Linked DNA regions of Homo sapiens: all the other regions are linked to region 4. The links are contacts of gene promoters, found by promoter capture Hi-C in blood cells and fetal thymus (Javierre and others, 2016). All regions are on one chromosome and are shown on one strand. The core of a region is centred on a gene start or on the middle of the fragment in contact, and the rest is flanking DNA. Distances in the headings are between cores, read along the strand shown.

What was found. The method cuts DNA at HindIII sites, captures the fragments that hold promoters and counts their contacts. A CHiCAGO score of 5 or more calls a contact.
Region 1: a fragment that was not itself captured here is called in contact with the fragment with the promoter of KCNA10 in region 4 in 1 of 17 cell types (neutrophils); the score reaches 8.3 in neutrophils.
Region 2: a contact is called between the fragment with the promoter of SLC6A17 here and the fragment with the promoter of KCNA10 in region 4, in 1 of 17 cell types (neutrophils). The highest score is 5.9, in neutrophils.
Region 3: a contact is called between a fragment that was not itself captured here and the fragment with the promoter of KCNA10 in region 4, in 1 of 17 cell types (neutrophils). The highest score is 8.6, in neutrophils.
Region 5: a contact is called between a fragment that was not itself captured here and the fragment with the promoter of KCNA10 in region 4, in 1 of 17 cell types (M1 macrophages). The highest score is 5.0, in M1 macrophages.
Region 6: a contact is called between a fragment that was not itself captured here and the fragment with the promoter of KCNA10 in region 4, in 1 of 17 cell types (neutrophils). The highest score is 5.3, in neutrophils.

Annotation. Positions count from the first base shown.
Region 1 is chr1:110,165,426-110,169,264 of GRCh38, forward strand. It overlaps SLC6A17 (solute carrier family 6 member 17), which reads left to right. Exons shown (of 12, transcript NM_001010898.4): 2 at 1,418-1,790. The coding sequence starts at 1,505. SLC6A17-AS1 (SLC6A17 antisense RNA 1) reads right to left here and starts at 3,426. Exons shown (of 3, transcript NR_183667.1): 1 at 3,002-3,426; 2 at 1,406-1,768; 3 at 523-889. The HindIII fragment of the contact is 4,912 bases long and covers 1-3,839 here.
Region 2 is chr1:110,148,751-110,152,632 of GRCh38, forward strand. It overlaps SLC6A17 (solute carrier family 6 member 17), which reads left to right and starts at 1,744. Exons shown (of 12, transcript NM_001010898.4): 1 at 1,744-2,133. RefSeq lists a silencer at 1,739-1,788 and an enhancer at 3,417-3,711. The HindIII fragment of the contact is 4,529 bases long and covers 514-3,882 here.
Region 3 is chr1:110,188,103-110,191,861 of GRCh38, forward strand. The region is part of intron 6 of SLC6A17 (solute carrier family 6 member 17); the gene reads left to right. Among named protein-coding and RNA genes, the nearest start is that of KCNC4-DT, 20 kb to the right of the region's middle. The HindIII fragment of the contact is 2,962 bases long and covers 111-3,072 here.
Region 4 is chr1:110,517,209-110,520,868 of GRCh38, forward strand. KCNA10 (potassium voltage-gated channel subfamily A member 10) reads right to left here and starts at 1,967. Exons shown (of 1, transcript NM_005549.2): 1 at 9-1,967. The coding sequence starts at 1,579. The coding sequence ends at 44. The HindIII fragment of the contact is 5,009 bases long and covers 1,383-3,660 here.
Region 5 is chr1:110,868,114-110,872,010 of GRCh38, forward strand. It overlaps a transcript of CD53 not described here. Among named protein-coding and RNA genes, the nearest start is that of CD53, 3.1 kb to the right of the region's middle. The HindIII fragment of the contact is 6,424 bases long and covers 1-3,897 here.
Region 6 is chr1:110,123,339-110,127,052 of GRCh38, forward strand. No RefSeq gene overlaps it. Among named protein-coding and RNA genes, the nearest start is that of UBL4B, 13 kb to the left of the region's middle. The HindIII fragment of the contact is 1,468 bases long and covers 772-2,239 here.

The DNA of each region.
Region 1 (3,839 bases), core at 229-2,728, 350 kb before region 4:
TAGTTACCCCAAAGCCTAACCCTGTCTATGCTTGAGGTGTGAGGGGGCAGTCACTAAAGACTCACTGTTCCCTTGGAAGAGGAGGGCAGCAGGTGTCACCTGCTAATGTGGTCCAAGACCTGGCCTACGGAGGGCTAGCCAACCCCATAAACCTCCCAGTTTCATTACATGTGTAACAGGGCCTGGCTGGCAGGTCTCCTTGATGGTCAGGCCTTGGCTGGGGTCAGCCAGGATGTCTGGGTCAAGGCTGGCAGGAAGGACGGGCCTGGCCCTTGAACTGCACAGCAGCCTTGCCTGTGCCATTCAGGTGGCACGTACCTACGAGGAGAACAAACGGAGCCCAGCTTCCAGAGACAGCTCTTTCCCTTAATAAAGTAATTACAGAGCTGGGTAAGTTACATCCCTAGAAAGATGCAGGGCAACCGCAGGCTGGGGTGTGTGTGTTTAATTTTAAATCCTCCAACCTTCCCTTAATGAGGGGGTGCCTTGAAATATAACGGAATGGTGGAATTCTTCAAAGGCTTCGTTTTCTTGGTGCTTTATTTCTTTAAGGGAAAGCATGAAAGACAAATGAGGACTGGCAGGAGTAGGGGAGGGTTTTGCCTCCTCCGCCCATGTCGTGCAGACATTATCTGCTGTAAAACTGTCGCTGAAGGATGGAGAACCAGCTCTTGGCTGCAGAAGTCCTCAGATAATGTCAGTGCTGAGCAATGACCCAAGATTCATTGGCACTGAGCAAACAGCCCTTGGCTTCTGGTGCCAGAATCTTTAGCTGAGCCTGGTCAACCAGTCCAGCTAGGGGAATGGAGATGCCATCGGCACTGGTGTCCAGGGGCCCCCTGGTGATGGCTCAAGAGCCTTTTTTTTTTTTTTAAATCACCTGGGGATCCTGTAAAAAGGCAGAGATTGATTCAGGAGGTCTGGTGCGAGCCTAAGATGCCCCTTTCTAACCAGTTCCTGGTGCAATCCCTGCATTTTGAATGAAAAGGCCCTAAGGAAGGAAGGCGCTGGCTTCCGTGGCTTCCGCCATGTGGTTTTGGCTAAGCAGAACACCTGGAAGGGGAAGGCTGTATGGGCCTCCAAAGGGGCTTGAGCACTCTAAGCTCTGCAGTATGGAAGAGGGAAATGTCTTCACGGATAATGCTCTACTTGGGTTCGGAGTATGGCTTTGCCTATTTTGCCCCTTTAGGTTTACTTTTCAAATAATGCTCGGGTCAAGCCTCTGGAGAAACTGAGTCTGTAGGCCTTGAGCTCCTCACCGGGCAGCCCCTGATGGGGAGCTAGGGCAAGCTGCATATATGAGGCCCTTGACCTGCCTCACAGTGTGATGGGGAGTTAATTTGGGTTGTGTCCACGTTGGGCTCCTCACCTTCCTGGTGTGGTCAGATAATCCTTTACTGCTCACCTGGTTTCCTAGGTCCCTGAATGAGAAGGAGCTGACAGCAGCTGAATTCCATCTTCTCTGTGTGCTGGGGAGCAGGGCTACACGGCCCAGGTGGCATCAATGCCGAAGAACAGCAAAGTGACCCAGCGTGAGCACAGCAGTGAGCATGTCACTGAGTCCGTGGCCGACCTGCTGGCCCTCGAGGAGCCTGTGGACTATAAGCAGAGTGTACTGAATGTGGCTGGTGAGGCAGGCGGCAAGCAGAAGGCGGTGGAGGAGGAGCTGGATGCAGAGGACCGGCCGGCCTGGAACAGTAAGCTGCAGTACATCCTGGCCCAGATTGGCTTCTCTGTGGGCCTCGGCAACATCTGGAGGTTCCCCTACCTGTGCCAGAAAAATGGAGGAGGTAAGAGACAGCTCTGCCTGCATCAGGGGTCCCCTGCAAATAGGCCGGGGATGAGGGGTAAAAAAGAACACCCCTTTGCTGAGGCAGAACTGGAGCCCTTGTAGGTTGGAGCTCAGGATTCCAGAGTAAGACAGCCCAGGAATAGCTATAATGATGGTTAGTAGCTACCAAGAGACTACAGGACATGATAAGAAAGTGGGCTCTGGCCCCAGACTGCCTGGGTTCAGATTCCAGCCCTGCCAATCAACTTTGGGACCTACTACAAATTGCTTAACCTCTCTGTGCCTCATCTGCAAAATGAAAATAATAGTAGCTCCTGCCTCATAGGATAGTTGGGAAGATTAAATGAGCTTTACGTGCAGAATGGGCAACACGCTACCTGACACGGTAAGGAGCACCTGTTGGCCATTATTACTAAATGCTTATGAGGTACTAGGCACTGTTCTAAGGGCTTAATGGATATTAGGGCTAAGTGCCTGAAACTGCTGATATTTGAGCATCTTAGAACAACAAAGCACCAATTTTATGTGATTCAACCATCGAATCCTCCCAACAGCCTTATATGAAGGAGTTGTTATCATCCTTGTTTTACAGACTACAATACTGAGGCACAAATTGGTTAGATAACTTGTTCAAGGTTGTGGGTGATCAAGGTTACAGCTAGTGATAAAGTCAGGATGCAAACCTGGACAGGCTTGCCCAGAGCCTGGGCACTTAGCCTCCACACCTATTGCTTCCGGGTAGGAGGGGCCTTCACACTGCCCCCTAGGCTTGAATCCCTCTTGAGGATGTTGCCCCTGGTATCAAACCACTACCACCACTTCCAGCCCCCAGGAATTGTCCAAAGGCAGCTTTCCCTGAAACCAGAGATCAACTAACTAAAAATAAAGAAAACCCCAATAGGCTGGAAACAAAGAGTTTTGCAAGCCCAGACCTCTGGTCCTGGGAAAGTCAACTAGCAAGAGCTCTTGTGCTCCTGAGTCCCTGTGCCTGGCATGGCATGCTCCAGCCTGTTGGGTGGCCCCAGCTTGGCAGGCATTTTACCCCAGTCCTTCCTTCCTTGCTTGTGGAACTCTTGCCATGTAACCTTTTCCAAAGACGCAGTCCCCTCCTCTCCAGGATGCATCTTTCCCTAGTTTAGAAGGCCACATTTGGCTGGGAGGCTTCTCCTTTCCAGTTTCTTTTGAAGGGCAGGGAGTGAGAATGCCCACCTGAACTCTTGTGATTGAATTAGGCCAAAGGCTTCCATCTTTCCCCCATAGCATGTTATATTAGCTGCATGGTCTCCTTGCTTGAAAGATCTTTTTTACTTTTTAATAAGTAACTGTCAATCAGAGCTTGTGGCCTGCATGGCATGGTAACTGAGTTGATGTAAGACTAGCCCAAAGCAAAGATATACAAGTATATGGTTTCTTTATGCCCTGTGAGATGTTGAGAAGAGCTCCAAGGCAACCAAAATGACTTCAAAGGACGTGTGGCATTGGAGGACTTAGCTGGGAACTTCTAACCTTGTTCTTTCTAGCTTAGATGATCAGTTCTGCCTGGGCACTTGGTGATGAATTCCAGAATCCCTTTCTATGCCACACACAAGCACTCACACCCAGGGCAGTGTTCTTGCCACAGTCTGATTGTTCACAGTGACACCAATCACCATGGCACCAGACATAAAGAACTACCCTAGAGGAAAAGCATTGTCAACTCTCAGAATTCTGAGCTTTCCATTCCACATTCCTGCCTTCCTTTTTCTATCTTCTCTGATTCCTGCAATCCCTTTTTATCTCTACCTTTAACTGTCCAGTATTTTTACAGGTTTTTCTTTGTTTGTTTTTTGAGACAGAGTCTATATCAAGTTGTCTTAAATATTTTTTAGGAGGAGGCAAATTATCACAGGAAGGAGACAGCTGTTTGGTCTGAGAGTTGAGTCTGTGCTTTTGAGCCATAGTCGATGTAATCAAACTTTGCATAGTTCTGGACAGAAACTCTGGAACACTCTCCTTAGCTCCACGAAATGTTGACATCTTCCTAGTTTGCTTTTTCTTCTGTTTATTT
Region 2 (3,882 bases), core at 494-2,993, 370 kb before region 4:
TGCCTTAATACTGCCTATCTCTGATAGGTTCCTTCCTCCCACCTCCCATACCACGTCAATTGTCACATTCTATTTGTTCATCTCTGTCCTGTCTCTTGCTACTTCCTGCCATGCCACTCCACCCCATCTGCTTCCCTGGTTGCTTCCACCAGAATGTAAACCCTATAAGGGCAGAGATTATTATCTGTCTCATTTTTTGCTGTCTCCTTAGGGCCTGGAACAGTGTAAAGTAACCATTAGGCTCACTAAATAATTGTTGAAAGAATTTTTCTATCAGGAGATAATTCTCTATGGGTTTATTGTGTTCCCACAAGTCTTGTGGGCAGAGGCACTGATGGCTTTTTTGTTCCCATTATCTTTTAGAGGATGGTTGCATAGCAAACAGCCTCCAACGATAGCGTCTCCCTCTAGTGGAGAGCAGTTCTGTTTGCTGTCCAGTATAATAAAGATATGTCTAAGGCAAATGTCGGGCAAGTTTGCTTGCAGCGCATTATAAAAGATTGAGGTTTCCTAAGCTTGGAGTTTCTCAGTGTGTGTGGTCCAGTCTCATGTCCCACCCATAGGACTTCAGAGTTAAGGGAAGGTGATCTGAATGTGAAGCTCTTGCAGCCTGCTGTGCCATGAGTAATTAAAGTCCTTTGTGTCTGGCCCAGAGTTTCCTGTCTTCTGATGGCATCCATGAAACTGGCAGGGTAACTTAGATTGTAAGTGTAAAATCTCAGACTCTTCAGAGTTCTTGACAATGGCCCTTACCACCTTTCACTAAGACAACCTCCATCTCCCATTCCTCCCAAACACCTCCCTTGGATGCCAAAGGCCCCCTTAGTGTTCCCTAGAAGAGAGATAATTCATCCAGACTCTCATAACAGCCCCCCAAGGCCCTGGCAGGATGGCTCCTGCCTCCCTGTCTAACTTCACCTCTCATCATCCCCACCCCTGCTCCAGCTCAGGCAACCACCACCCCACCCCACGCATACGTTTCTACTCTCTTGCATCTATGCCCTTGCCATGCTGTCCACTCCACAGGGGTCATCCTTCTCCCCTTCTGACTGTCCATCCTTTAGGCCAGGATCTTCCAAGAGGCCTACTCAGAGACCAGTCAGAATTTCCCTGTCACTGTCTCCCCACTTTACTCATCTTGTACGGTTCTCCAATCCTTTCGCTTTGTACTGTAAAGACCTGGGTCAACCCACACTGCCTCTCCAGGAGGTTCCCTCACGTCTGTGATCCTTTCAGCCTCTGCAGCCCCTGGCATACAGTAGGTGCTCAACAGATGAGTGATGTCCTAAGAGTTGACCTGCACAGGGAACGGCCTTGCAGAATGGTAGGATGGAAGGACGGAGGAGTGGAAGGACATCTAGAGGAAAGGGAACAGAAGCACGGAGGTGGAAATGTCTAGGGCAGGGGAAATAACCACATGAATTGAGATTGAGTTCATTAAAGAAGGCCAAAAGAGGTGAGTCTGAAAAGAAGAAAGTGAGGCCCAGGGTCCAGGAGGGCTTTAACCATTGGGGCCCCATTCCTCTCCGAGGGCAGAAGCCCTGGCGAGGGCTCCAGGGTCTGCATCCCCTGACCAGGGGCCTCAAGAAGCTAAGCCCCCTTGCAACTCCCTCTCCCGCCCCACGCCCACCCTCTCCGCCTACGTCGGCCATCAGAGCCTCGCTCGCTGCCCGAGAGCCTCGCATTGACGCCGGCCCGCGCGTGAGTCAAGCCTGCGTCACGGCGCCCCGCCGCCAGGGTGGCCTTTCGGAAAGCGAGGGAACAGTGCGCGCAGCGCTCCGCCCAGCTCCGTTCTGCTCCGCAGAGCCGGCGCTGCCAGGGCGCAGGGAGGGCGGCACTCGGCCCCAGTCTTCGCAATCCCGCGCGCTCTCTCCGCCGTGGGACCTGGGTCCCCGCGCCGCTCCCCTGAGCCCCGAGCGCGCGGCGGGCGGGAGCCAGGTTGGGACTGGTGGTGAGGCAGGGAGTGAGGAGCGAGCGGAGTCGCGTGCGCCGGCGCGCAGCTCCGGGTCGCCCCAGCCCCAGCCGGGGGCCTGTGGCCCGGGGGAGGAGCTGTGCGTCCGCGACCCGTCGGGGATCGCAGCTGCTCGGCCGGAGTGCACGGGCCGAGTCTGCGCGACTACCCACGCGTGACAGGTGAGTCGCTGGCCGCGCCCCGCCTGGCTTTACCGGGCCGGCCACTGCAACTTTCCCTGTTCTGGCCCCGCCCCAGCCAGGGAGGGCTGAGGACCAAGGTGTGAGGCGGCGCTGCCCCCGCATCCGCCCGACCCTGCGCTCGTCCCGGGCTCCTCTCGCCGCTCCAGCCGCCGTTGCCTGGCGACGGAGCCCCGGGGCCCGCTCTCCTTCGCGCATCGGGGTCCCCAGCGGCGTACGCACGGGTTGGACACCGGGCTTCAGCTTCTGGTGCTCAGAAGGGCCCAAGAACTCCGGAGGAAATTGGGCTTAGCTGCGGAGGCAAGCGCCCGCGGAGAACCGGAGGGGGCCTGTCCGGCCCATCCGCGGCTTGAAACTGCGCGCCCAGGGCGCAGTTCCACTGGGAGCCTCTTACGCAGCTGGAGACCCCAGCCCCAGCCGCTCGGCCTCAGGCCTGTGACCTTGACAGTAACATTGGCAAGCGAAGCAGAACTGTCACGCCCGAGATGAATATTTAATTCTCAGTCCTGGGGCTGGTCCTCGCTGGATTCGGAGCTAGCAGAGAGCCCTTCCTCCCTCGTGGGAAGCGCATCTGGGGAACGGAATGGCTGAGACAGGGGACGTGCGTGTGGTGCCCATCTGGAGGGGGCGCCGTCCTGGCGGGTCGAGAGGCCTCTGCTGCATTTATGCCTGTGTGCGCCGTGCTCTGAAGCGATGCTGGATGCTCGCAGTACTATGGGTGGGCCGCTCCCCAGGGGCGCGGCTGCCTTGGAAAGAAGCGTGATGTTTCCTTTTAAAGCCCAGACAGCCCTGTCAGAAATCAAATTCAGAAATCCCAAGGCCATTCACCTTACAGGACCTAGGCCCTGTCAAGTTGGCTTTAGAAAATATTTTTTGATGCCATTCCTCTTTCCTTTTTTTTTTTAAGAAATACTTTAACAGGCCTTTTGGATTACGAGATTTCTAACCAGAGCTACCTTTGGGCAATTCAGCTGTGAACTTGAGGCAGATGGGGGTGGGTTGGGGAGACAGGGAAGTGGTAATGAGGAGGAAGATTCTTTTCCGGGCATTGTCCTTGTTAACAGGAACTTCAGGAACAAAGACAATCCTGTAATGGCTCCAAAAAAATTCGGCCAAAACTTTAGTTAGCGCCTAACTGTTAAGGCCTTGCTGGACACGCTCACTGATGTCTGGAGAACAAGGTCAGAGTGTGTTGAGGTTAACAGTGGGGAGTTCTTGTGTCTCGTTCTGTGCTTACATTATCCCATGGCTCTGTGAGGCGGACCCATCACCTGGGCAGGAAGAGCTTTGAGGTCACACCTGATTGTCCTTGGCCATGGCTCATCCACGAGGACCGTCAGAGGCTTTAGCTCCACTGCCGGATTTTTCTCCAATGGAACATCTGTGGCTAAGTAGGTGGTTGAGTTTCAGCGAATCCCTGAAGCTCAGCCTGGAGGGTGACTCAGTGCAGGAGGCAAATGGTGCCCACCAGCTCTGATTGGAGTGAGTTTGTTTGGCCTGAGTCACACACAGAGTCGTGTGTCAGCTGTTTGTGAGTTGATTGGAGTTCTTTAGCAGGACTCGTGAGCAGGAATGGCCTGAGCCCAAGTGTTTTGGGCAGAGGTGGGCAAGTCCTCTGAAGGAGCTAAGCAGAGCTCTGGCTGTTGAGCAAGGGTCCTGGAGCTCTGACTCCTTGGGAAGGTGAGCAGGGCCAGGCTGGGCTGGGCAGGGAGATGGGGAGAGGTGAAGGGG
Region 3 (3,759 bases), core at 342-2,841, 330 kb before region 4:
AATACTAACGTGTTTGATTACAGGGTGCTGCCCCAGACCCTGCTGGGGGTGATATGTAATTAAGTAGCATATGCATCACATTACCTTTCTAAAATTAAATTAGAAACAAAAGCTTGTATTCCAAAACCAGTCAGCCCCCAGGGCTTTTAGATAAGGAACCGTGGGCCTGTATTACATTTGTAAAGAAGGTAACATTTCATCTTACTTTAAAAACCAGACATCCGCCTATGCAAGGGGGTGGGCCCCCAGCAGTACAGGACAGCCCTGCCCTGTTTCTCTGGTCACCTGGCTCTCCCATGCTCCGCTGTGGCTATTTTAAACCCTTCCAATCCTTCACACCCTCTGACCTTCCTTCCGGCATACTCATCCCCAGCAGATGATTTTGCCTCCTGCTTTACAGGGAAAACAGAAGCTGCCAAGAAACTCCCTCAGATGACAGAGACAGAAACCGACCATAAAACCTGCCTGCAGCTGCCCCATCCTGTCCTCCCTCCCTCCTCTCTCAAATGAGCAGCCCAAGGGTGGTCCTATGGAGGACAGCTTCCCACCCCATCCCGATCCCTACCCTCCAGCTTTTCAAGACACTCCATTGAAAACAAAAACAAAAAAGAAATCAAGACAACATATAAAAATGCAACCCTTTGTTGATTTCATAGCCTTCTCCGGATACTGCCCTTCTCCTGATCCGAGGCTTGCTTCTCCGAGGACCTGCTTACCCACATTGCCTCCATTTCCTCCCCTCTGCCTCTCTCTTTTCTTCACTTCCCCTGGCTTCTTGCCAGGGAGCAACTCCGAGGAAGCCTCTGAAGCCCCCTGTGGCCTCCTGCGTGGACTCCCTCAGGGTCTTTCACTGGCAGCACTGACCCTTCCTCCTCCAGGCTCTGGGTTTTCCTCTTGCCTCTGCTGCTTCTCCTTCTCTGACTCCCTTTCAGGAGACTCTCCCTCTTCCCTGCATTCAGTGTTGGAGATAGGAGCAGGCTTTTGCTTCTTATCCCTCTGTAACTACAGCCACAGCCTCAGCTCCTGCCAGCACACCTGCTACTCAGAAAGTCTATCTCCAGCTTGTCTCTCTCTGGCTCCAGGCTCATCTGTCCAGCGGACCACTTGGCATTTCATTTTAGATGTCTTAAAGACACATTCAGCTCAACCTTTGTAGAACTAATGTCCTGATCCTCCCTGCCCAACACCATCAACCTGTTCCTCTCCCACTGTCCCCATCTCCACCTGCTCAGGTATGCAGGCCAGAGACATGGCCCTCACCTCGGCCTCTCCCTCTCCAGCATCTCCCATCTCCAGTCCATCCCGAAGGTCTCCTTGGTTTGTCCTGCGAAGATCTCTCCATTGGCACCACCCAGCCCCTTAGCAAAGCCACTGTCCCCTCCAGCCTGGACCCCAGAAGCCGCTTCCTCGAAGGTCTGCTGAATCCACTTATTTCTTTTGGAAATGCACATGATTGTGTCCCCACTTCTTTAAACCCCTCGGTGGCTTCTTGGGTTAGGTGCTTTCTTAGGGTGAAGACAGGATCTGTACAGGCCTTTGATCTAACTTCTCTCCTCTCCCAGCCCTACCTGTGCCACCCCCACCTCGTCCTCACTGCTTCAGCCACCCTGGCACCTTCCATTCCCTTTTACACACCATCCTCTGTCCTATCTCAGGACCTCTGTCCATGCTTCTTCCCGAATGTTCTTCCCTCCCCTTGTGGCCTCGCTTTCATCAGCTTTCAAATGTCAGCTTGAGGACCCCTTCTTCTGGGAAGCCTTGCCTGGCCTCCCAACTTGTTCAGATCCCCTTCTTATGGGCTCTCCAAGCACTGGGTGCCCAGCCTTCACAGCCCTTGTCACATTTGCAATTTAGCATTTGTTCGTGGGATCATTTGACCAATGTGTCTCTCTCCAACTAGAATGTAAACTTGGAGAGCCTGATTGCTTCTATTCCCCATGGCCTCTGCATCGCCTAGCACCAGGCCTGGCCCACAGCAGGTGCTCAGAGATTGATGGATGAGTGGCTACATGTCATTGCCACAGGGAGGCCTTGACACCTTATACCTAATAAGTACACAGGGGTGGGCTGGGGAGAGGGTCTCCTCATAGATGCCAAGGGGCCCTTAGATCCTTAAGGCCTGGGTTCTGGGCTTTCTTGGTGGACTAAAGATGGTTTTACTTATTTTGTGCTGGATGGGGGACCTTAATCTCCCCTGGAGTACACATGCTGTCTGACCAGGCAGTCCTCCTGGGTCTCCATTTGTGCCCAGGCCCTGAAGCTCAAAGGCTCGACTACCATCCCCCACCTCTTTCCCCTCAGCATGGGGGTGCCGCCCTCAGCCTCACTGCTCTGCCAGCGCTCTGAGCTTGCCAACATCTCAGCTGTTGGAGTGCTGCCAGGAGTTGAGACATGCCTAGGAAGCTGCTGAGATGATGGCAGGTGGGCCCTGTGTCCTGGATGTTATTTAGGGCTGTGATATTAAAGACAGCTAAAGTCCAGACGGACCCTAGAGTCCAACACCTCACTGTTCAGGTGAGGACTTACCCACAGGTACTCAGAAGGGGCAGCCGGGCCAGGACCCACACAGGGCTTGTCACCACAGGGAAGTGAACTCTCTGAATTGGCTCCTTGCCTCCTTAGTCTGTCTGGAGTGAGGTCACTTAGGTTCACCTCAGCAGCAAAGGTCACAGGGGAAAATGCTTTAAAGAGTATAGGTGATAGAAAAACTGAGTCAGGAGTTGGTGCTGGGGCCGGGGGCGGGGGCCTGGCCCAGAATATCTATATTTTAGTTATCACTCTGCCCCGACTAACCAGCTCCATTACCTTGAGCAAGTCATTTCATCTTTGGGGTCTCAGTTTACCCTTTAAAAACATGAATAGTAATCCTTGCTTCCTGCACCCCCGCAAAACACAAAACACCCTGTCCTGACGAGGTCAGCCTCATTCTGTTGGGATTGAGTGCCACTACGTACAGGCATTACTTGTTGCTATACATTTGATCCTCACGTTCACTCCGAGACTCTATTACTATTCCCTTTTCTTCAGATGAGTAATCTGAAGCTCATAACACAGTCAGTGCCACTTACCAAAAGCTTCATAGCCATTTAAAGATGGGAGTCAGGATTTGGATCTGGATCTGTCTGAGACTCTAAAGCTCTGTGCTGGGTCCAAGGCTTGGTCCCTGCCCCAAGGAACAAACAATAAAAGGAAAATAGGTTGGAAAGGGGCTTTGGAAATTGCTCCATGCCATCCCAATGCTGTTGCAGTTCGGGCTCCTGTCAGGTGTGAGGGCAGATGGAAGCTTAGGCGGAGGCCCTTTCTCCAGGAATTGTCTAGGTTCTGTGCTTCAGGTTGGGTGATGGTGGGGAAAAGCAGGCGGTTTGGGTTTTTTTTCCTTTCATGAGGTAGAGGAGTTTGAGGTGGAGAAGGCGTCAGGGAGATTCTGGTATTCTCAGTTTTCTTGTGCTGCTGTGCAAGCTGTTCACTGCAGGACTCTAGGAGGCACCTGTCACACTGTAGTCCAAGTGAATGGCACTCTCTAGAGCTGTGTACTACATGACCATATGTGATGGCCTTGACGATGTTCCTTAGTATGATGGCTGCATGGGAAGCCATGGTAGCAGTTAAATTACTATGTAAGCACTCAGCATTTATGTTGTCTTACCAAGTCCTCACAGTCATCCTCTGAAGTTGATACTCTTGTGATCTGCGTATTGGGGAAACTGAGGCTCAGAGGAGTAGGGAAATTGCCCAAGTTCACACAGCTTCTTACCACTA
Region 4 (3,660 bases), core at 717-3,216:
AGAGAGAAGAGAGACAGGATGGACCCAAGAAGCCCTGGACTGATCATTTCCTAGACTTCTCTGTGGAACAGCCACCATTGGTCTTATTAAGAGAGTCTGTGCTGCCCATTCTTGAGCCTACACTGTTGAGGATTCTTTCAATTTCTCCTGGGATGTTCTGCTTTTCTTCATTCTCAGTCTCCCGGTGGTAGAAGTAATTGAAGTTGGAGACAATGACAGGCACAGGGAGGGCAATGGTGAGGACCCCTGCAATGGCACACAGAGTGCCCACAATCTTCCCCCCTGGGGTGGTCGGGCACATGTCCCCATAGCCTACAGTTGTCATGGTGACCACTGCCCACCAGAAGCCATCAGGAATGCTAGAGAAATGGGACTCTGGCTCATCCACCTCAGCAAAGTAGACTGCACTGGAGAAGAGGATGACTCCAATGAAGAGAAAGAAGATGAGCAACCCCAACTCCCGCATGGACGCCTTCAGTGTTTGCCCGAGGATCTGCAGCCCCTTGGAGTGGCGCGAGAGCTTGAAGATGCGGAAGACCCTCACCAGGCGGATGATCCTCAGGATGGCCAGGGACATGTTCTGTTGGGCACTCGGCTCTGTCTCCTGGACTAGCTCTGTGATGAGAGTTGCAAAGTAGGGGATAATGGAGATGATGTCAATGATGTTCATGATGTTCCTGAAGAAGTCAGTCTTGCTGGGGCAGACCACGAACCGGAGCACCAGCTCGAAGGTGAACCACACGATGCAGGTAGACTCCACCATGAAGAAAGGGTCGGTGAACATGGTCTGGGAGAGGACTGTCTTGCTCATGTTGAGATTGGGGTCTCTGACCACCTTTAGCTCCCTATCCTCCCGGAACTCTGGCAGTGTCTCCAGGCAGAAGATGGTGATGGAGATGACCACAACCAACACCGAGACCACGGCCACAGCACGGGCAGCGCTGGAACTTTCAGGGTACTCAAAGAGGAGCCAGAACTGACGGTGGATGTCATTGGTGGGTAGCAGTGTTTCAGGGTCTTTGATGAAGCCTTCATCCTCCCGGAACTGGTCCATGGCCTCACTACCCAGCTCATAGAAGGAGATTTCATCAGCAAAGATATCAATGGGAACATTGGCTGGGCGCCGAATTTTCCCACCAGATTGGTAATAATATAGGATTCCATCAAAACTGGGCCGGTTCCGATCAAAGAAATACTCATTTCTCATGGAGTCAAAGAACTGCATCCTTTTTTCCCGGTCTCCCAGGAGAGTCTCTGGGAACTGACTAAGGGTTCTGAGCTGGGTCTCAAATCTCAGCCCAGCAATGTTGATGATCACCCGCTGGTTTCCTTCATTTAGGACCACTGGCTCAGGCCCTGGGGGGTCAGCATAGTCTCCCGGAAGCTTGGAGAAGGCCGTCTCATGGTTGGTGCTTTCGCTGATGAGGATCTTCCCGTTGGAGAAGGAGCTGCCCCCAGGCCGGCCTTTTGGGCTGGTTGAGTCGAAGTCTGTGGCATAGCCTGGCTCTTCTTGGATTTCATCTGAATTATCAAAATTGACCAGCGCAACCTCCATTTCTTTCCAGCCACACACATCCATTCTAGGGGAGCCAGGGAAGAAGCATGAAGATCCTCAGCCTTCACTGCCTGCTGTGAGCTATGGAGAAGAAGAAGTTCATTATACAAGATCCAGGGCAGAATACAACTGGCCCTTGTTTATTGAGGTAAGGTACACCAATGGGCTAATCAATGACTTATTTGTAGCTTGGGAAGGAACGTCATGGTTATTTTGGCAGCATGCTTCCCTTAAAATCATTTTGTACCCCTGAGTTTGCATAAACTAATAACTAGGAGAAATTGCAAAAAAAGGATCCTGGCAAAGAAGGGGAGATTCTCCCCAGCAAAGGATGGTCTCCATATGTGATGGCAGAGGGGCCATACTAAAAGAGGAAGTTAACATTCCTTAATAATAAAAAGCATGATCTTGTATTTGCATGAAGCCTTCTGTCTCACCAAACACGTCTCCATGCCCAATCTCATTCGTAATGCCTCTCTTTCACACCAACAGCCAGTCCCTCACACATCCTTTTGGTCATGTCTTCAAAATATATCTAGAATTCAACCATTTTGCATCACTTCCACCCCTGCTTCTGGACCAAGTGGTGAAGGGTGGAACCAGATCTATGAACCCAATGGGGATTCTTTAGGGAAGGAAAAACAAGACGCTGGGTTGGCCAATCGACAATGTCCTCTAAATGACCCCTCACCTGGAAATAACTCCTAGAGTTGTTTTGAAGGTACCTCAAATGAGATAACACGTATGGAATGCTTGGTGGAAAGAAAGATCACTATATTATAGCTATTGTTTTTTGTCAACTTTCCCACATAACAAGCACTTTAGAAACTACCAGCAATTGGAATTTTTTTTGGCCTGAGTCCAAGGTGTCCATAGGAAGTAATTTCATTTTGAGAAATCATTTTAGGTGGGAAGGAAGTAAATAATTGTGTGTGTCTGTGTGTGTGTGTGTATATGTGTGTGTGTGTGTGTGTGTGTGCGCGCGCACGCTGGAGGTGGGGTTAGGAAATCATGCCCAGTGGGCTTGGACATCTATACACATAGACTAATATTTCTTTCCTCAGGTTCATTCTAGCTTCAGTTTCAATTTAAGAACACTGAACCCAGGCAGGCTGGGGGTGGGAGTGGGAGAGAAGTAAGGGACTTAACCTCAGGCAAAATCTGTAGTGGTCACAGCCTTGGAGAGGTTTCCTTTACAGGCGACAAGGCTATCCTGCAGTGTAGTGTTGTAGTCTTTTCAAAGTGATTCCACATTCACTTATCTCACTAGATGACAATAATCACGTGAGGTTAGATGTTATCTCTGTTTTGCAGATGCGGAAACCAAGTCACAGGGACAAAGTGACTTCCTAAGGTCACATAACTAGTGCTACAGAGTCCTGACCTAAACCTGGCCATGGCCTTCTGGCCCAGGGCCTTTCCCACTAGACCATGGAGTCCCTATATAGGAGCTGAGCCTTGTGGGGAGCTGTAGGCTAGGGCCACAGAATTGTCAGGGGTCCAGAGCTCTTTCCATCCCATGACCCCTTTTCTCAGTTCAGGTGCCATGTGTTGAATGATGAGCTCAAGTCTGGTTGGTCAGCACTGGTAGAGTACCCATTCTACCTCTCAGGAGTATGTGGCCATTGCAAACGGCCTAATTTCACGGAGCTGCTGCTTCCTCAGTTGTGGAATGAGGAAGGATGTACCCACTGCCAAGCATGCCAGGTGCCAGCCTGCTCTGCAAGGCTCGGTGAGCAGTAGGATGGCTGGGAGGCAGGATGGAATCTGAGAATAGAATCAGTCCACCCGAGTTCAAATCCTGGCTCTGTACATGGTAAAGCCCTGGAGAAATGTAGCTTCACAGTAATTCGCATGATGATTTGGGGGCCTTGTCCTGAACTGCTTGGCAGCTGGATGGCTGTGGGTGGGGGACTCCAGCTCTGTGTTGATCTCATGTCTTCGGAGCACCATTTTCTCCTTTGGGGTCTTGGACCGCAGATGGTGCTCCCTGATGATTATCTTCCAGGTGTGAATCAGTCCCGCTTTCTGAGAGGAATGAGTACCATCAGTGAGCTTTGGGCAAGGTTTGGGAACCACTTCCATGGTTCTAGCCAAGGCTAGAG
Region 5 (3,897 bases), core at 431-2,930, 350 kb after region 4:
GAGTCAATATTGTTAAAATGCCCATACTGCCCAAAGCAATTTGCAGATACTATGCTAATCCTATCAAACTACCAACACTATTCTTCACAGGACTAGAAAAAAACTATTTTAAAATTCATATGGAGCTAAAAACAAATAGCCAAGATAATCCTAAGCAAAAAGAACAAAGCTGGAAGCATCATGTTACCTGACTTTGAACTATACTACAAGGCTATCATAACCAAAACAGCATGGTACTGATACAGAAACAGATGCATAGACCAATGGAACAGAATAGAGAGCCCAGAAATAATGCTGCACACCTACAACCATCTGATCTTCAACAAAGCTGACAAAAACAAGCAATATGGAAAGGACTCCATACTCAATAAATGGTACTGGGCTAACTGGCTATCCATATGCAGAAGATTGAAACTGGACCCCTTCCTTATACCATATACCAAAATCAACTCAAGATGGATTAAATTTTAAATCTGAAACCTAAAACTTTAAAAACCCTGGGAAATAACCTAGGAAATACCATTCTGGACAAAGGCCCTGGTAAAGACTTGATGATGAAGATGCCAAAAGCAATTGTGACAAAAACAAGAATTGATAAATAAGGCCTAATTAAACCAAAGAGCTTCTGAACAGAAAGGGAAACTATCAACAGAGTAAATAGACAGCCTGGAGCATGGGAGGAAATATCTGCAAACTATGTATCTGACAAAGGTCTAATATCCAAATCTATAAGAAGGTTAAACTAATTAACAAGCAAAAACCAAACAACTCCATTAAAAAGTGAGCAAAGGACATGAATAGACATTTGTCAAAGGAAGTCACACATGTAGCCAACAGGCATATGAAAAAATACTCAGCATCGCTAATTATTAGAAAAATGCAAATCAAAACCACAATGAGATACCATCTCACACCAGTCAAAATGCCTATTATTAAAAAGCCAAAAAATAACAGGTGTTGGCGAGGTTTCAGAGTAAAGAGAATGCTTATACGCTGTTGGTGGGAATGTAAATTAGATTAGCCAGTGTGGAAAACAGTTTGGAAATTTCTCAAAGAACATAAAACAGAACTGCCTTTTGACCCAGCAATCCCATTACTGGGTACATATCTAAAGGAATACAAATTGTTCTATCATAAAGACACACGCATGTGTATGTTCATCATAGCACTCTTTACAATAACAAAGACACGGAATCAATCTAAATGCCCATCAATGATAGACTGGATAAAGAAAATGTGGTACATATACACCATGGAATACTATGCAGTCATAAGAAAGAATGAGATGATGTTCTTTGCAGCAACATGGATGCAGGTGGAGGGCCTTATCCTAAGCAATTTAATGCAGGAAGAGAAAACCAAATATTGCATATTCTCACTTATAAGTGGGAACTCAACACTGAGTACACATGGACGCAAAGAAGGGAAAAACAGACACTAGGGCCTACTTGAGGGTGGAGCGGGGAAGGAGGGAGAGGATTAAAAAACTACCTGTTGGTCACTATACTTACCCCCTGGGTGATGAAATAATCTGTACACCAAAACCCTGTCACATGCAATTTACCTATATAATAAGCCTGCATATGTACGTTTGAACCTAAAATGAAAGTTAAGAATGATGTTCTACAGCATTTTCTTCAAAACTTTACTCTTAGAGCCCATAAGCAAAATCCAATGTACTACTAGTTAACTTTAATCTCCCATTTGAAGTTTCCAATCTTATAATTCTCACAAAATCTATGCCTCTTAAACTCTAATATCCTTATATACTTAAATAACTCTGAAATAAACTTGGAAGTTCTATCTGTATTCTCATATTTCAACAGTGATTATCTTCCAATAATAAAACAGAACTACTCACTTAGAAGGCTTTTGAAAAAGGCCTAAATGGGGGCTAAATACAAAATGTCTATGTGAGTATTTGTCTATTCAGAATGTATTTTGGCAAATACGACTGCACAGTAGTAGAGTACTCATAATTTGTATTCCCGCTATTCGTCTGGCCAAGTTCAAGTTTCCTAAACTCTCAGATTCTATTATCATCTATGATGGTGATCAATATACCCCGTATTGAGAAGACCAAGCCATGAGTCTGAGCTTCTGCTAAATGCCTTTTCTAATTTAGTTTTTTCAAAGTTTTTGAGCGTTCTTTTGGGTTATTCAATAACATGGGGTTTCCTGATATTGTCTTATTCTCTATTTGTTTTTGTTCTTGTCCCTCCAAATGAATTCTAAATATCTGATGGTCAGAAACAGAATTAATTCTCAATAAAATTTTATAGGTATGGGTATAAGTGGGCACGTTGTTCTCTACCAAACCCCTAAACCCAGGAAACAGCCACCTCTAGTTGTCCGGCACTTGGAACAACCCTTCCCAGTGAAATGATGGAAAGAGGCACATTCAAGGAAAAATGTTCTGCATTAAAATGGTCACCTATTTTGCTGTGAACAATTTGTCTTGAGATAGTCTTCCCGATATTCCTAAGATTCCCCCTTATTTATCACTTCTCTCTCTGCAGATGTTCAGTCTACCTATCTCTTTCTTCTCCTTACTCTCTCTGCCTGTCCCAAATTTCTGGTTCCCCTAACTTGCAGGCCTCACATTACCTGAAACTATTCAAATATTTATAGAACACCTCTTATGTGCCAGACCCAATACCAGGCACTAAAAATACAGTCATGAGCAAGATCACCCAACATACACAGAGTAACACAGAACCTACAGAGCTTTCAGTCTAGTGGGGAAAACAATGAAAAACAAGGAATGACAGAGGGTGGAGGAATGCCTGTGGGCAATGGGAGCAGAGAGCAGGAGTAACTGTTCCTGCCTGGAGGGCTTTCTGGTGCTATGATGGGGGATGAGTAAGGAATTAAGTGAACAGGTGAGAGGATATTCTAGAGAGAGCTCGTGAGACAGAACTAGATTGATTTGTTTAAGCAACTAAAAGGAATTCCATATCCAGTGTTACCCAGTGTGAGGAGATCTTGGGGGTGGGGCCGGGGAAGAAATAGCCGGCTGAGAGTTTTAAGCTGGGGAGTCATGTGATTAAATTTGCATTTTAGAAGGCTCTCCTCCCTTCTTCCTGAGGACAGACTGAAGAAACATCCAAGGTGGTCTTGAAGGACACTGGGATCCTGTAACACAGGTAAAAGATAAAGACTAATGTAATTTCTATGGGGTTGGAGAGAGGTGGTCTGGTTTGAGAAATATTTAGGCAAAAGCATAACTGACAGGACTTGGTGGCTGATAATAGGTGGTGGTGTGGGAGAGAGAGTAGCTTAAGAGGACACCTGGTTTCTCATGAACGTGGCTGAAAGGCCAGTCAGGCCTTTCCTGGATGGTGGACATGGTGGGAGGAGCAGGCTTGAGTGTGGGGATGCCAAGTTAATCAAACTGAAGTTGGATATTGGATTTGAGGTGCCTGGGAGAGAGTGGAGCTCAAAGGAGAGATCATGGCATCTATATAGATTTGTGAATCTTTGGAACAGACAGATAGTAATTAGAGCCATCAGAATGGGTGAGATAATTAGGAAAATATGAGTTCAGCCAGAAGCCTCTCCTCAGCCCCACCACTTCAGGGACCTGTAAGCATGGCAGCAGCTCTGAGTGAGGGTCAGTGATTCCAGCCGAGGTGCAGAGACTTTTTAATAGCATTCCCTAAAGTGTAGTTACACTGAAAAATTGTTCCCCAAGAGAAACTACACACACACACACACACACACACACACACACACCACACAGTTCCATGCTCAGATAAGTTTGGAGAAATCTATATATTATTTCCCCTGCTTAGAGAATATTAAGGACTGACAAGTTCTGCAGTAAAGACCTTTTTACCTTCATTTAATTCAGTTTTCCCCACAAGACAGCCCTGGCTGGAGATTACTCTGGATCTG
Region 6 (3,714 bases), core at 256-2,755, 390 kb before region 4:
CAGCCTGTCCTCTGATGCCGACCAGCTCCCTGTTGCCTCAAAATGCAACGTGTTCAGAAAACCAGTCCCAGATTCTCATTTCCTTGAGGGTTTCTTGCTTAGAATCTCTTCTGGTATGAGTTACTGTTCTAAATTGGGGACAACAGATTTCACTCTGGCTGATTTAAGCAGAAAGGAATTTATTAGAGGATATTACATAGAATCTTGGAGAGGGCCAAGACACTACATGGCCCAGAAGATCACAGTCAGGAGAAATACCTGAGCATCTCACAGGACAGATCTGGTGGAAATACCGCTCTGCTGTCCACTCCTCAGGGAAGACATGCTAGAAACCCCCACAGCTGGCCCAGGGGACTTAATCCCCTTGGCCTACCACTGCTTTACATTTTTTTTTTAACTCTATAGCTCCTCTCTCCATCCCCTCCCCAGGTTCATGTGGGGATTCTCTTAGTGGAACTGGGTCTCACATGAACCCTAGCTGCAAAGGAGTCTGGCAAATGTGGTTACACACTTTCCAGTCTCTTTAGTGCAGGAAACAAACTCTGTCTTTGTCTCTAAGATAGCTTTTTCCTTGGTTCTCCAGCTCCCAGCAGAGGGACCTGCCCTTGCCACTGGGCATTCTTTTGTTGTTGACTGCCAAAGTGGAGGTTATTAAACCCAGGCATTGTCGAGGCAGACGTTCTGCTCAATGTCCTTAACATGTAATATCTTCACAGGTGTAGAGGGTATGAAGAGCTCTCACATACTTTTTCTCTTTTAGTCCTCTCAATAAGCTTGAAAAGTTGTCATTATCATCCCCATTTTATATTTGAGGAGATTGAAACTCAGGTTAAGTGAGTTCCCAAGGTCATAGAGCTGGTACATAGCAGATCCAGTATCCGAATCCTTTACTTCCATTCCCTACTCCCCACCCACATAGGTGGAACAATTTATTGCAACTTTAGTTTGTGGCTTGATCTCACTTTTATAACTAATCATCTCTTCCCCAGCTCAGGGCTACAACCAGTCCTTTGTGCAGCCTTGCCTTATACCAGATTTTGGTGAGAGATGGCACAGAGTAGCAGTTAGGGCATAGGTCCTTGAGTTAGAATGCTAGGAGCCACTTGTGAGCTGGGCTGACATTGGGCATGTTACCTTAACCAAAGTAGCTAATCATATGGTGCTATGGTCTGGATATTTGACCCCACCAAACCTCACGTGGATATTTGACCCCACCAAACCTCATGTTGAAATTTGATCCCCAGTGTTGGAGGGGGGGCCTAATGGGAGGTGTTTGGGTCATTGGGATGGATCCTGCACAAATGGCTTGATGCCATCCTCATGGTAATGAGTGAGTTCTCACTCTATTAGTTCCATGAGAGCTGGTTGTTTAAAAGAGCCTGGCACCTTCCTCATTTCTTTTGTGATTTTGCTGTCTTGCTGTGTGATCCCTGCACACTCCAGGCAGGGATCCCAACATGAGTGGAAGTAGCTTGAGGCCCACACCAGATGTAAATGCCAGCACCATGCTTCTTGTACAGCTTGCAGAACCATGAGCCAAATAAACCCTATTTTTTTTATAAATTACCCAGCCTCAGGCATTCCTTGTATAGCAACACAGACTGAGACAACTCATATACCCTACCTTGTTATCATCCAGACTGAGATAAGTAGCATCTATTACCTTAGTGACTTATAGACAGGATTAAATGAATGATCACAAATGAAGAGCTTAGAACATAGTAAAAGTACAGTGTACAGTAAACTTTACTGTTGCTACTGTTTGGGGTGGTAGAGCCAAAAGTATCAATTGTTAATCACTCAGAAGACTATTCTCACACATTGTTGGCTTTTGTTTTGTCAAATTCTAGGTTCATTGATGAGATTGTGTTGGATTATCTTGGAGAAGGGGGCAGTGGGAGGAAAGTTGGAAGGAAAGCAGACTAAAGAGATGTGTTGGGGGTGGGGGGTCCACGATAGATGAGACTGGAGCCATCCTTCCCTATGGGACCCCAGGGAGGTGACAGAGCCTTAGGACAATGGCTGCAGGGTACCCTGAGAAGGTTGACTCTAAGCAGAGACCCTTCCCCAAATTGGCCTAGAAGCAGGGACCCATCACCCTTCCTGAATCATGAGAATTGGTCAATGAGCATACCTGTGTAGACAGAATGTGTGAAGACCAGCAGACTCTCCTCTAAATGTTCTGCAATGTGGGAGACCCCAGAGTCTTTGCTTGCCTCTGATGGTGCATGGGCAAGGAAGCTTTAATATGGCAAATTGAATTTCCCTCTGGGCTGGTAGGATGGAGTTTTGGAGCAGATTACATTTAATCTGGACAAAGAAACGAGACCTTTTAAACACCGTATGTTGGAGAGCAAAATCTCTTACTCATGATACCCTATCTTGTTATCATCCAGAACGAAGTCCCAGCAAAACCAAAATTTAGGCCTTGGAAACCTAGGTCTCTATTCCTCTGGCCTTTTCTGGAGTACAGCCAGAAACCAAAGCTCTTTTCTCTTCCCTCTCATTATCAGACTCACACCCCATTGAGGACCTGAATGAGTCAGGTAAACACAGATTCAGATCCCAGCTCTGCCACTTAGCAGCTGTGTGTGAGGTTAAGTCACCACTAAAATGAAATAATTAAATTCCCTTCAAAGATCTGTCATGAGGATGGTGCAAGACAATGTAAGCTATGCCTGTAGGTTGTCGTGCAGTGTGGCTACTGTGCTCTTGTGCAGATTTAAGCCAGTGAAGTATGTGAAGGCTTCGCAGTGTGTTAGCTTGGCCGGGCAAAATTACATTATCCAGAATTCATTCTCCAGTGTGCTTCCAGATAGGGTAGGCCACAGGCGATAGTCTCTCATGAAAGTTGGAGGACAGAAGGAGGCAGGGCCATTTTGTCACATATACTCCCCTTCTTTCTCTTATTCAGTCAAACACTAATTTAGGTGCTGCTGTAAAGGGATTTTGCACATGTAATTACAGTCCCTAATCAGTTGACTTTAAATTAGGGAGATTATCCTGGGTGGGCCTGACTCAGTCAGTTGGAAGCCCTTTAAGGCTTAGCCCTTCCCTGAGAGGGACTCATGCCTGTGCGATTCAGCCTGCCATGACTTTCCCTTCCTGACCACCTGTGTAGCCAGCTCCTCACTTGCATAAGCCAATTTCCTGCAACAAATCCATATACATCTCCTACTGGCTCTGCTTCTCTGTGGACCTCTGACAGATACAGGGTGCCTCTCCTGGGACACAGAGTGGTAGGAGGCATTGGGGAACAAGGAATCAGGTGTGCCTGGTGGAGGAACCCCTGTGGAAGCCCCTGCAGTGGTGCCAGAGAGATGCACAGGCTATGGCAGGGCAAGCCCTGCCTCTGCCCACATGTCTACATTGTTTGTGGAGCCCTTGCTGTCTGTCTGCTGGCCTGGCACAAACACAGGGCCACATTATGGCATTGAAACACTGAGTGAGACAGGTGTCATTATCTCTGCTTTTCAGATAAAGAATCAGAGACTCAGAACTGAGTGACTGGCCTGAAATCACTTGGCTAATAGGTGGTGGAAGTGAGTCCTGGCTTACCCAAGGGGCCCTCACAGCCACCCAGCAGCACTACTTGTCTTGTTAGCTGCTTTATAACTGCTCTGCCCCTGAGTGTCAAGTGTCTCTCATGCATGGGCCAGGCCCGAGCTGGAGATGGAGCCTTAATAATGTCGGCCAGACCCTTTCCCTGCCCTC